2 separate regions of the Homo sapiens genome follow, and region 1 is linked to region 2. The links are contacts of gene promoters, found by promoter capture Hi-C in human tissues and cell types (Jung and others, 2019). All regions are on one chromosome and are shown on one strand. The core of a region is centred on a gene start or on the middle of the fragment in contact, and the rest is flanking DNA. Distances in the headings are between cores, read along the strand shown. Region 1 has its middle 65 kb from the start of AKIRIN2. Region 2 holds the start of SLC35A1 (solute carrier family 35 member A1).

Evidence for each region. The method cuts DNA at HindIII sites, captures the fragments that hold promoters and counts their contacts. A contact is called where the count stands out against the background at its distance.
Region 1: a contact is called between a fragment that was not itself captured here and the fragment with the promoter of SLC35A1 in region 2, in 1 of the 25 tissues and cell types used here (H1 embryonic stem cells).

Annotation. Positions count from the first base shown.
Region 1 is chr6:87,765,713-87,768,412 of GRCh38, forward strand. No RefSeq gene overlaps it. Among named protein-coding and RNA genes, the nearest start is that of AKIRIN2, 65 kb to the left of the region's middle. The HindIII fragment of the contact is 7,224 bases long and covers 1-2,700 here.
Region 2 is chr6:87,471,474-87,474,358 of GRCh38, forward strand. SLC35A1 (solute carrier family 35 member A1) reads left to right here and starts at 1,501. Exons shown (of 8, transcript NM_006416.5): 1 at 1,501-1,546. The coding sequence starts at 1,531. LOC124901357 (a long non-coding RNA gene) reads right to left here and starts at 1,472. Exons shown (of 2, transcript XR_007059668.1): 1 at 1,300-1,472; 2 at 1-1,025. RefSeq lists enhancers at 1,148-2,054, 2,050-2,219, 2,270-2,369 and a silencer at 1,460-1,599. The HindIII fragment of the contact is 15,167 bases long and covers 1-2,885 here.

The DNA of each region.
Region 1 (2,700 bases), core at 134-2,633, 290 kb after region 2:
GAATTGCTTGAACTTAGGAGGCAGAGGTTGCAGTGAGCTGAGATTTTGCCACTACACTCCAGCCTGGGCAACAGAATGAGACTCTGTCACAAAATAAATAAATAAATAAATAAATAAATAAATAAATAAATAATAATTCTAAGTTTTATCTTTATTCCAAAAGAAGCCATTAGAGAGCCATTAAATAGGGAAATGATATAAAGAATTTATGTTTTAGCCTGGGCTGCTGCACGGAGAGAGGATTGGAGAGGTGAACATAGGAAGATTGATTAAGAGGCTCCTAGAGAAGTCCCAGCAAGATAAGACCATGTCCAGAAGGACCAGTGGCAGTAAAGCTGGAAAAGTGACAGTTCATCTGGGTTATACAATATTTTCAAGGTAGAATACAAGACTTGACAATATACTCTAACCTCTGAAAGTGAAACAACTCTTCATAATTATGTGGAATGTAGAGCTACAACTGTACAATTTGTTTTGATGCCAAAGTTTCAACGAAAATGCTGAATTATTTTTAACATTTACAAAGAAAGAAAGCAAATTATATATTTTTTCTTGATGATCCCAGCAAGTTGGTGCATTAGATTATGAGCAGTGAAATCTGATGTTGTGTGCCTCACAATTTTGAAGCTCATGTTCTCTTGGTTGCAGTCATTAATCTCTTGTCTTCTCCAGTTATATTTGTTTATTTAAGACTGCAGGCTGGATTGATTTTACTAGATATGGGTCTCCTTGGTGAGAGGGTCATGAAGGGACAGTGAGGATGTTATGTGAGCTGAAATCATGACATACAAACAGCAAAGAGCAGAGGCTGGGCCCCATCAGGGTTGCTGGATGTTGTATGAATCCATTCGTGTTTTGAGACGAGCATCTCCTTAGAAAAATACTTTCTGGCAAAGTAGTTTACAGGTATTTATTTCCAGATTTGGATAATAAAAACATAATAATACAAATATATAGATGGTCTTAAACTTTATTTTTTTTAATTAAATTAAATTTTTTTTGAGATGGAGTTTCGCTCTTGTCACCCAGGCTGGAGTGCAATGGCACTATCTCGGCTCACTACAACCTCCGCCTCCCCGGTTCGAGCGATTCTCCTGCCCCAGACTCCCAAGTAGCTGGGACTATACGTGTGCACCACCACGCCCAGCTAATTTTTTTTTTTTTTTTTTTTTTTTTTTGCGAGACGGTGTCTCACTCTGTTGCCAGGCTGCAATACAGTGGTGCAATCTCGGCTCACTGCAACCTCCACCTCCCGGGTTCAAGTGATTCTCCTGCCTCAGCCTTCTGAGTAGCTGTGATTAAAGGCACCCACCACCACGCCCGGCTAATTTTTGTATTTTTAGTAGAGATGGGGTTTCACCATGTTGGCTAGGATGGTCTTGATCTCTTGACCTCCTGATCCTCCCACCTCGGCCTCCCAAAGTTCTGGGATTACAGGCGTGAGCCACTGTGCCTGGCCTAATTTTTGTATTTTTAGTAGAGACAGGGATTCATCAAATTGGCCAGGCTGGTCTCGAACTTCTAACCTCAAGTGATCTGCCCGCCTCTGCCTCCCAAAGTGCTGGTATTACAGGCATGAGCCACTGCGCCCAGCCAGACTTTAAAGAGTTTCAAAGAGAATATATAAAAGAGACTTATAAAGAATGCTAACTCATTAAATATGGACAGGGAAGTCTCATGGATGGAATCTGATGTTGAGGCTGTATGTGTTGAGCCTATATTTTTGAGACTAGGACAAAGCAACAAAAATGGAAATACCTTTTGTTCCCCCTTCCAGCCACTTTTCCCCACCCTAGCTAAAATCTAGGAAAACATTTCTAAAGGAGAAGCTGGAGGGCAATCCTATCTTATCATTCTCTTCCCAATGTCTTCCCCCTTCATTCAAAGGGTCTGTGTCTTCAAAAGTAAAACCTTCCGGAAGAGAAGTTCTATGGGAGTCTCTGATCTCAGGATGTGTGATATGTGACAACATTTCACACTTCCCTAATTCAGAGCGTTGGGATGGCAGCAGCGGGGAGCAAGAAGAATTCTAAAAGACTGTGAAAGATGGCCGGGCACGGTGGCTTATGCCTATAATCCCAGCACTTGGAGAGGCCAAGGCAGGCGGATCACGAGGTCGGGAGTTCGAGACCAGCCTGACCAACATGGTGAAACCCCGTCTGTATTAAAAATACAAAAATTAGCTGGGCGTGGTGGTGCGCGCCTGTAATCCCAGCTACTTGGGAGGCTGAGGCAGGAGAATTGCTTGAACGCAGGAGGTGGAGGTTGCAGTGAGCCAAGATCACACTACTGCACTCCACCCTGGGTGACAGAGTGAGACACCATCTCAAAAAGAAAAAGAAGACTGGGAAGAATAAATATCTTTGTCTTGTCCTCTTGAGACTGCAGTCAAAGATCTGGAAATAGGACACCAAGGCAAACATGTATGAGTGGAGAGCAGGGCCCCAAGGAATCTTTAATGTTGCTACAATACAGACAGGACCTGGGTTTGGATGTCTCCTTTCTGAAGGCTCCATGTAGAAATAAAGACAAGAGACCAAAGAAGGAGAAGGAGAGATGAAGCCAAGAAGTAAGCAGCAGCAATTCACAGCTGGGATGTAGTATCGATTTATCTCAGACTCAAAGGATCTGAATGGTTCTAACGACTTAACAAAGGGGGTAAACTAGCCTCTTACTGGATGTCTTTCCTATAGTGCTAAC
Region 2 (2,885 bases), core at 251-2,750:
TTAAAATTAATTTCACGTACATATATGAATATTGTTTAAATGTATGCATAAGTACATACACAGTAGAGAACTGAATAATTCTACTAGTGGAAACTGTATCAATTACAATAAGGGAAGATTAGCACCAGTGAGCACACTTACTACCAGGTAGAGGAAAAGTCCAACACTATTGCAAAATGAGATTAATCAAATGTCTGCCTCTACAAAGTCAACTCTGGTCTCCTGGGAGCCCCTCCCAATATTAATATGATGCTAATAAGGCATGCAAAATGTTCCAACAATGTTAACAGACCAGATATATCTATATGTATATTTAACAAGACAATGGTATACAACCAACCCTCTAAAAGGACAATTTTGGGGAAAGAACATGCTGCAGAAGGTGTGGGCTGCTGGGCAGCTCAGAATCTTGCATCCCTATTCCTGTAAGTGCTGAGGTATTTTCATATTATTTTAAACCAATCCACATATCTTGAACATCATTTATTTCACCAATGAATTATTTCTAATATCAATTATGATAGCTAATTAACATCCCCTAGTGAAAGTGGAGATTATAGTGGTTAAAATGCCTGTTGATATATCTAATTTTTTTTGTTTTTTGAGACGAAGTCTCGCTGTGTCGCCCAGGCTGGAGTGCAGGGGCGCAATCTCGGCTCACTGCAATCTCCCGGGTTCAAGTGATTCTCCCGCTTCGGCCTCCTGAGTAGCTGGGATTACCGGTGCGCGCCACCACGCCCGGCTAATTTTTTGTATTTTTAGTAAAGACGGGGTTTCGCCATATTGGCCAGGCTGGTCTCGAACTCCTGACCTTAGGTGATCCATCTGCCTCGACTTCCCAAAGTGCTGGGATTACAGGCGTGAGCCACCACGCCCGGCCGATACATCTGATTTTTTAAAGGCCGTTTTGTTGTGCGAAGATCATTAGTTAGAATGCCTGGCTGGGTAAATACAACCGATGACTGCTGACGATATGGAACAGGCACAAGACTTCTGAACGATATGTAGAATAAATTATAACTTATCTAGAACACAAGGTAACAGTGGAAGATAATGAGCCAGGTGGAAGTTACAAATGTTGCCGCAAGTAGTTTCTGTTACTTTACGAGTTCTGGGAGCTTCTCTAACAGCTTTGACAGGAGTGAATCCCCAAGGCTAAACCCAAATCCTTATTTGCCGCCTACTCACGCCTTTGTGAGGACTACGATTCCCAGACGGCAACGCTCCCTTCACTCAACTTCCTTAGCTGGCGGGGAGACGCAGTTTACAGAACTACCTCCCCAACCGAATTTCACACACCTGTCACCTAGGACGCGGCCGGGAAGGCCTCCCTTCGATCCGCGTTCTCCCCATTTTGGGGTGTAGCTTGGATTCCTGAGCCCAGTTTTAGTGCGTGGCCGACCGGGAGGCCGGCGAGGCGCTCTAGGCCGAGCGGCTTCGTCTCTATGACCACAAGGGGCGGTCCCCGGTGTCCTGCGCGGGGGCGCGGAGGGGGCGGGCGTCAGTTCCGCGGGGGGCTGTCGGGGAACCATGGCTGCCCCGAGAGGTGAGAACTGGGTCTGCTGGGAGTGGGGAGTCCGCGGGGGGCGGCGGCGGGCGAGCATCTGCGCTGGTCAGCCCCTGTCGGGCAGCGGAGCACCCTGGTTGCCCAGTGCCTCTGGGGCCTGGCTGAGGCGTCAGGAGTTTGCGTGGAGCCGCTCCCGGCAGTCAGGGCAGCCTGCCTTCCGCTGCGGCTGCAGTCTCCGCGGCTGACTCCGCGCTGGGCAGGTCGGAGTCAGAGACCGCACTGACCTCCACTAGCTGGGAGTGGGTGGGAACCGAATTCTGACAGGCCGGGGCTGCGGCGGACCCGGAGAGAGGCCAGGGCGTGGGTCCGGGGCTGGACCGCATTACCCAGCGAGGCAGGACAGTTCTTCACCCTGGCCCCGCGGCTCCGGTCTCCTCTGCGCCTCCTACCCTGTGGATGCTCAGAGGCTTAAAGGCAGGCTCCGGGCGCAGATCCCATGCGGCGGCTGGGCCATGCAACAACCACTAAAGACATCACTGGGGCGTCAAAACAGCACTGAAATCGTAACGAAAGGAAGATAACAGTCGTTAACAGTTCCCACCTGTATGCTGTGTGTAATTATAGAGAATGCTGTATGCTGCTATTTGGGGTGGAAGCTGAGATCCACCTCCCTCCTCCTGAGGGATGGCACATTCGGGTGAAGGCGTATTTGTTGACTAATTGACATTTAAGGAGGGCGAGTCTAATTGACTCCGCACCACTTTTTGCTGAGCAGTGTGTGTAAGTTGGGACCAGAGGTGGATTCTTTGACTGTGGTGCATTAACCAGGAGAAGTTGGGCAACACCCGGATTCTTGCTCCACCCTTCCTCCATAGAGCACTTGGCTTCACCCTTGAATAAATATTGAACGAATACATAAGGAATATCTTCTTGCGTGGGTTTCAAGTTATTTTCCCTGTTGCGGGGTCCATGTTTCTCATCAGGCCCTGCCCAGGGGCATTGTCTTTAGTTGCATATGCTTCTCTTATGTCTTCTTTCTGTTTCATTTCAAATAAGTCCAATCTTAAAAGCCTTTTTTTGTAGCAACACAGGAAATAAAAGAAAAAGAAATAGAATTGTTTTGATAACTAAAATGGAATGGGGATAGCAAAATTGATCCGAACGAAAACTTATAAATTACAGAAGTCAAATCATTACTTGAAATAGCTGCAACAATGTAAAGGTTTAGGCTTATTGCCAATACATATTTGTTGAGCCTTGATTGTAATCCTAACAAAACTACAGTTTCCATAGTTTCCGAATATCCACAAAGGATTTATCTGGGACTTACAGAATTTCTAAGTTCTTAAGTATTACAAATAATGTCCCCATAAACTAT